2 separate regions of the Homo sapiens genome follow, and region 1 is linked to region 2. Evidence: promoter capture Hi-C in 16 types of primary human blood cells and fetal thymus (Javierre and others, 2016). All regions are on one chromosome and are shown on one strand. The core of a region is centred on a gene start or on the middle of the fragment in contact, and the rest is flanking DNA. Distances in the headings are between cores, read along the strand shown. Region 1 has its middle 19 kb from the start of BCL2L14. Region 2 holds the start of GPR19 (G protein-coupled receptor 19).

Region 1 (3,160 bases), core at 660-3,159, 640 kb after region 2:
CTGAGGCAGGAGAATTGCTTGAACCCGGGAGGTGGAGGTTGCAGTGAGCTGAGATTGCGCCATTGCACTCCAGCCTGGGCAACAAGAGTGAAACTTCGTCTCAAAAAAAAAAAAAAGAAGAAGAAGAAGTTATAGGGCCATTGTAACCTTGTCCTGGTATAGATTGTGTCCCCTGAGCTGAGTTCAGCCCTGCCCTTGTGTTTTTCGAGGAAGAAAAGCAGGGAGTGAGACTACTTGCCTTCAAATCCCAGCTCTGCTATTAGATTAGCCCTATGGACTTGGGCAAGTTATTTAACCTTTCTGTGCCTCAGCTTTCTAATTTGTAAAATGAGAATAATAAAAATTCTATCTATCTCACAGGGCTGTTATGAGGATTCAGTAGGATGTAAATGTAAATATGTAAGGTGTTTCCAAAGGTGTTTGGCTCACCCACATGCTAGAGAAATGGTGGTGGTGGTGCTGGTGGTACCATCATCATTGTCATTCTAAGGACACTGTCCATGTCCCCAAGGGACCTGATCAGAATGGTGATGGGTGCTGCATCAGTGAAACAAGAATACTGAATTCATGAACCGTCTTGCTCTTCTACTACCCCTGCCCCAAACACACACCTCACTCCCTTGATATGGGCAGGCTTCTCACTTTTAGGCTTTGGCCTAAGTTGGAATGCTCAGACGTATACTCCTTTTGGTCTCTATCACTAAACTTTAGAAATTATCTCGTTCAGGGCTCTTATTTTAGGTATGCTCAAGGTCAGACAGAAGCTAAGAAACCAAGGTCCTGATACAGCAATCCCACTTCTGGGTATTTATCCAAAGGCATTGAAATCAGTATGTTGAAGAGACACCTGAACTCCCATGTTCATTGCAACACGATTTACCATAGCCAAGATATGGAATCAATCTAGGTGTCCATCAACAGATGAATGAATAAAGAAAATGTGGTATATATGCACAATAGAATACTACTCAGCCTTAAACAGGGGTGAAATCCTGTGATTTGGGACAACATGGATGAATCTGGAGGACACTACGCTAAGTGAAATAAGCCAGGCACAGAAAGACAAATATTGCACGATCTCACTCATAGGTAGGATCTGAGAAAGTTGATCTCATAGAAGTAGAGAGTACAATGGTGGTTACCAGGGACTGGGGGTGGAGCGGTGGTTGGGAAAAGGCTACACAGTTTCAGTTAGACAAGAGGAATAAGCTTTACTAATCAATTGCACAGCATGGTAACTATAATAAGTAATAATGCATTGTATATTTCAAAATTGCTAAAAGTAGATCTTAAATGTTTTTACTGCAAAAAATTGGTAAGTTTGTGAGGTGATGGATTTACTAATTAGCCTGATTTAATCATTCCACATTGTAAACCTATATCAAAACATCAAATTGTACTCCATAAACATGTATTATTACTACTTGTTAATGAAAAATAAAAATAAAACGAAAAACAAAGGAAGAAGAAAAAAACCTCAAAAAAGAAAAAGAAAACAAGGTCCTCAGCCGTGTCCTATTTTCTTTGCACTCACCACCCACGTCCTTCTCACATCTGATTGTTGAAGTCTTTCCAACTCCAACTCAATTCCACTTCTTCTTAGAACCTTTCCAGATCCTCCAAGGTAAGCTGGGCTACTCTTTCCCCATGCCTATATGATTGTAAGTTGTGTGTAGCTATTACAGTACTTACGGTCTTTGTTTTAGTGTCCATCACCTATGCCTCTTGTCTTCACCCTGTTTGCCTAAAGAGCAAGGAGATAATATTCGCTTTAGGGTCCCACTTGGCACAAGCATGGTGCTTTGCATATATTAGACTATCATGAAGTGCTCATTGAATTGGGTATTAAGATTGTATAATGTGGACTATTTATCTTAGAAGAGAGAAGATTTAGGAGGAATGGAATTGACTCTCATGGAAAGATTCGATTCAGCTACCTAGTGCTAAAGAGCAGAATGGGGACCAGGGGCTGAAAGTTACCAGGGGGTAAATTTGATCTGGCTGTGTGGGGCGGATTCTTCCCAGTGACAATCATTTAATGAGGAGATGGGTGCCTCATGAGAGGCGAGTTAAGGTATTCAAGCAGAGGCAGGATGGCCACTGTCAGGAGTGGAGTAGAGGGGAACCCTCGGGATTCCCTGTTTATTAGCTGAGTTTCAACATCACTAGAAACCTCGGTGATGTTTTAGGTTCCCATGTAGCTACAGACTACAGCAGACGCATGGGGTACCTGATGTGCAAACAGGGTTGAGACAGGCCTAGCACTGCCCAGTAGACCTGAGTCTGGCTTAGGTTCATTCTTGACTCTTGCTAGTCTAGTCTGCAAGAAGCTGAACTCACGAAAAGCCAGCTCCTTTTCCCACCATCTCTATTTATTAACCCCTCCCTCACTCTTATACACCCTGCTCACTGCTGTCTGGTGCCCCTACAAGGTCAATTTCACGCTGAACTTTACTACAGTGAAAAGTCCTGAGTTTCATCTAAAAGCATTTGAGGTGTCTTAAGTTAAATTCTAAAACCTTTCAGTTTAGCTTCAGTTTATGGTGCTATTCAATCCTTATCGAGCACTTCCGCCAAAAGGTCCTAAATCTCTCTCTTATGCAAGCTTCCACGGGCTGCATGAGGCCCAGGATGGCTTTGAATGTGGCTCAACACAAATTTGTAAACTTTCTTAAAACATTATGAGATTTATGCACGGCCATTCTTTTTTCTTTTCTTTTCTTTTCTTTTTTTTTTTTTTTTTTTTAGCTCATCAGCTATTAGTGTTAGTGTGTTTTATGTGTGGCCCAAGACAATTCTTCTTCCAGTGTGGCCCAGGGAAGCCAAAAGATTGGACACCCCTGTAAATAGGCTCTTAGACTCGAAGCTATAGTTTCTGTAGTTCTTCTGCCTATTCTATTTCCTTCTCAAATTACGGGTCGCACTGTTCCTTTTCAATTTGGGTTCCAGGTCTACTCCTATAAGCTTCTGGCTAAAACCTTTCTGTTTTTGCAGACTCCTCACTAATAAGTGTCCCCCTTGGCATTTTGCTCTTAGGATCTGGTTTTCCATATTTTTGAGGCTCTTTGTTTCTTCTTTTCTTTTCTTTTCTTTTTTTTTTTTTTTTTGAGATGGTGTCTCCCTCTGTCGCCCAGGTTGGAGTGCAGTGGCGCAATCTAGG
Region 2 (3,030 bases), core at 1-2,500:
TAGAAATCCTTCCATAAAAATACTTTTTAAAAAGTCACTTTGCCTGCCTTTTTTTTTGTTTTCAAACGAATCCAGTCATATCTGTAAAACAAGTTTCCATCAGATCTCATTTTATAAGCAACATCCTCTTCTAAGCCACCTGAAACTGACTTTGAAGAGCTCTTCAAACCATTTCAAAAATTTGTTTGTTGGCTTGTGCTTTCTTGGGTTAATGCTTCTAGAGTCGTCTCCAAGTTTCAAATTTTGCATGGCTGCTTTTTTTTTTTTTTTTTTTTTTTTACTTCGCTTCAAGAGTCAGTCTTAAATCATGTAGGTTTTGCTTGAGGTTTGCTCGAGCAAGAGGACCTTAGGTTTGGTCTTATTTGCATTTTTACCATAACTAGGCCTACATTCTAAATAAGTAACTAAATGCCACCTATGAGTTTCATTAACTGTGGCTGCTTGCCACTTTTTAGTTCTGGTTAGGGTGGTGCTATTGTTTTCCTCAGGTTCATTAGAAACATCTTCCGTGACAGCTCTGACGCGGCACCGATTTCTGAGTGTCCAGTGTTTTCCCTACCATTATTTTCTTTGGTCTGAAGTTGACACTTAAACTGTCCAGTTTTAAACCTCCGATCCGTGTTCCCAAATGAAAACATGACTTTCATTACGAATTACACGTCAAGGGAGCAAACCAAGGCGCTCGGGGCGGCGAGAACCGCGACACAGCGCTTCGCCTGGACTGGTAAACAAACCGCCGCGCAGGCGCAATGGCAACAGGACGGTAACCTGGGTAGCCGCCAATGGGCTTTTTCGTAGAGTGAAAAGCGGAAAAGCCAAACAAAACGCTGGTTCCAAGGTGATAAACTGGCTGACTTCCTCTATTTTTACTTTTTTAAAAAATTTTGTTTCTGAAGAAGTAGTTGTGCGGCCTTCTGGGCCTCGCAGAGATCTTCTTCGTGGAATTCCTCGGCCCCAGAGAAATGCCGCTAGCCTGTCGGCTAGTTATATTAGCCTAATTTTTTGTCTTGATCTTTTTCATTTGACTGCAGCACTAATCCTAATCCACTGGGGCAGCAAAAAAAAAAAAAAAAAAAAAAAAAAAAAAAAAAAAGGGCGGGTGGGATCTCAACGCCACGGAAAACCTTCATACTAGCCGGCCATCACCAAACCACGCGAGATCTGCCTGAGGAGAAGCGCCACCCCGGGAGTGCACGTTTGCGCATGCGTCTGGCTCATCATTTTTAGCGCGCAAAAGTTTCAAAACTTTCCGCCTAGTGAGAGGCGGTCCGATTTGGCCCTTGGGGAGTGTCCGTCGCGTTGATCTGATGGATTCACGTACACAACACCACATTCTATGAGATTTTGCAGGCAAAAGTCCACAAGCTCGTATGGTCATCCCTTCTTTCCGTTTTTATATTGGCCGTGAACTCTGTGAGGGGAGGTTTCAGCGACTGAAGTAGTAAAGGAGTGGGAGCGGGAGAGCCGATTAATGAGGTTGTAGAATAAGAGAGAAATCTGAAGGGACAAAGGAGTTTTATTTATTTTTTGGCTGGTGACCAAGAGGATGTGAGTGTGAGCTAAGGTAATACAGTGGGAAGGAGAAGATGGGAAGATTTGAGAGATAAATGAAGGCAGTAGCTCTGTAGCCTACCTGGGAGGCCAGACTAGAAAGAAGTTGACAGTAGAGGACATTTTTCTTAAAAGAGTGTGAACTTATGCATGTTTGTAAACAGGCAGAAATGGCATGCATTTAGTACATGGTGTATATAAGGTGGAAATCGGGACGCCCCTAATGGAATGGAATGAGGAAGATTCTAAAAGCCACAGTCCTGAACACAGGCCGAGGTGGAATTGCGAAGAACAGTCGCGGTAACAGAAGTCAGGAATTTGGGAACTGTCTCGAGGGATCTGACCAATCTGACCTCTTTTTGTCTCTCAGGATATATGGGACACCTGCACCGGCATTGGATTTGGCCCCGCAACATCTTAAAGGTACCACCCAACACCTGAAGTGTCTGCCTCCTTCCGATGGAGCCTCCTGGCCCCTCCCACCTCTCACCAGCTTTACCCTTTAGCCAGAATGAAATGTGGATTTCATGGAATGAAATGGTGGCATTTAGCTACCACATTACTCAGATGTGTCACTGACACCTTACAGAAGTACATACTTCTAGCCTCTAGCCTCCCAGTTCACTAGATATTAGAGTCCATCTTGATATCGGCAGCAATTCTATGCCACTTAGCTACTATAATTTGATTCTTTGTATACTATCTGGAGTACAAGGCAGAAGAATGCTGATGGAATACGTAATTTTACTCCAACAAAGGAATGGCTGATAGGTAAAGAGTATCACTTCATCTGTAAGAAAAACTAAATATGGAAAGCCACAGGATTGAAGCTAGCAGTGATGGAGAAGGATCCCAGTGTGAATATATAGAATGGAAGTACTTCAGTAAAGAGCCAGGCATGGTAATCACTTACCAAGAAAGTGACTTCATTTCATTTTGGCAGCCTAAAGTATATCCTGGCAGCTGCGCTGTATGTGTGAAGTGCATAGGAAAATGCTGCAGGAAAAATCCATGGAGGCAATGGAATAGGATTTCAGGGTTGAAGCCTGGGTGTCTTGTTTTAGGGAGTGGGATCATCCAGCTCTGAGAGGCATGACATCTCGATATGATGTCATATAAAGTGTGTACAATTGGGAATCAGACCTGGGCTTTGACTTTAGGGTCTGCCAGTCACTCTGTGTGTCCTGTCTGAATCTCAGTTTCTCAATTTATAAAATAAGGATAATAGTGCCTGTGCCATAGGATTATTGTAATGACAAAATGAGGTAGCATAGAACTTAGTGTAAAGTACATGCCACCTATCAGTTGAATTGTGGATGCTCTGTGCATCGTAGGTCCGTCTGTATTTAGGGAGCTTTAAGACAGGTACTCTACCGGGTCAGGCGCGGTAGCTCACGCCTGTAATCTCAGCACTTTGGGAGGCTGAGGCGGTCGGATCACAACGTCAGGAGATCGAGACCATCCTGGCAAATACGGTGA

Evidence for each region. Contacts are between HindIII fragments. The CHiCAGO score rates a contact against its expected background, and 5 or more counts as called.
Region 1: a contact is called between a fragment that was not itself captured here and the fragment with the promoter of GPR19 in region 2, in 1 of 17 cell types (endothelial precursors). The highest score is 5.0, in endothelial precursors.

Annotation. Positions count from the first base shown.
Region 1 is chr12:12,050,380-12,053,539 of GRCh38, reverse strand. It overlaps a transcript of BCL2L14 not described here. Among named protein-coding and RNA genes, the nearest start is that of BCL2L14, 19 kb to the left of the region's middle. The HindIII fragment of the contact is 1,396 bases long and covers 1,212-2,607 here.
Region 2 is chr12:12,694,403-12,697,432 of GRCh38, reverse strand. It overlaps GPR19 (G protein-coupled receptor 19), which reads left to right and starts at 1,250. Exons shown (of 4, transcript NM_006143.3): 1 at 1,250-1,368; 2 at 1,922-1,974. RefSeq lists enhancers at 1,083-1,162, 1,343-1,502. The HindIII fragment of the contact is 8,608 bases long and covers 1-3,030 here.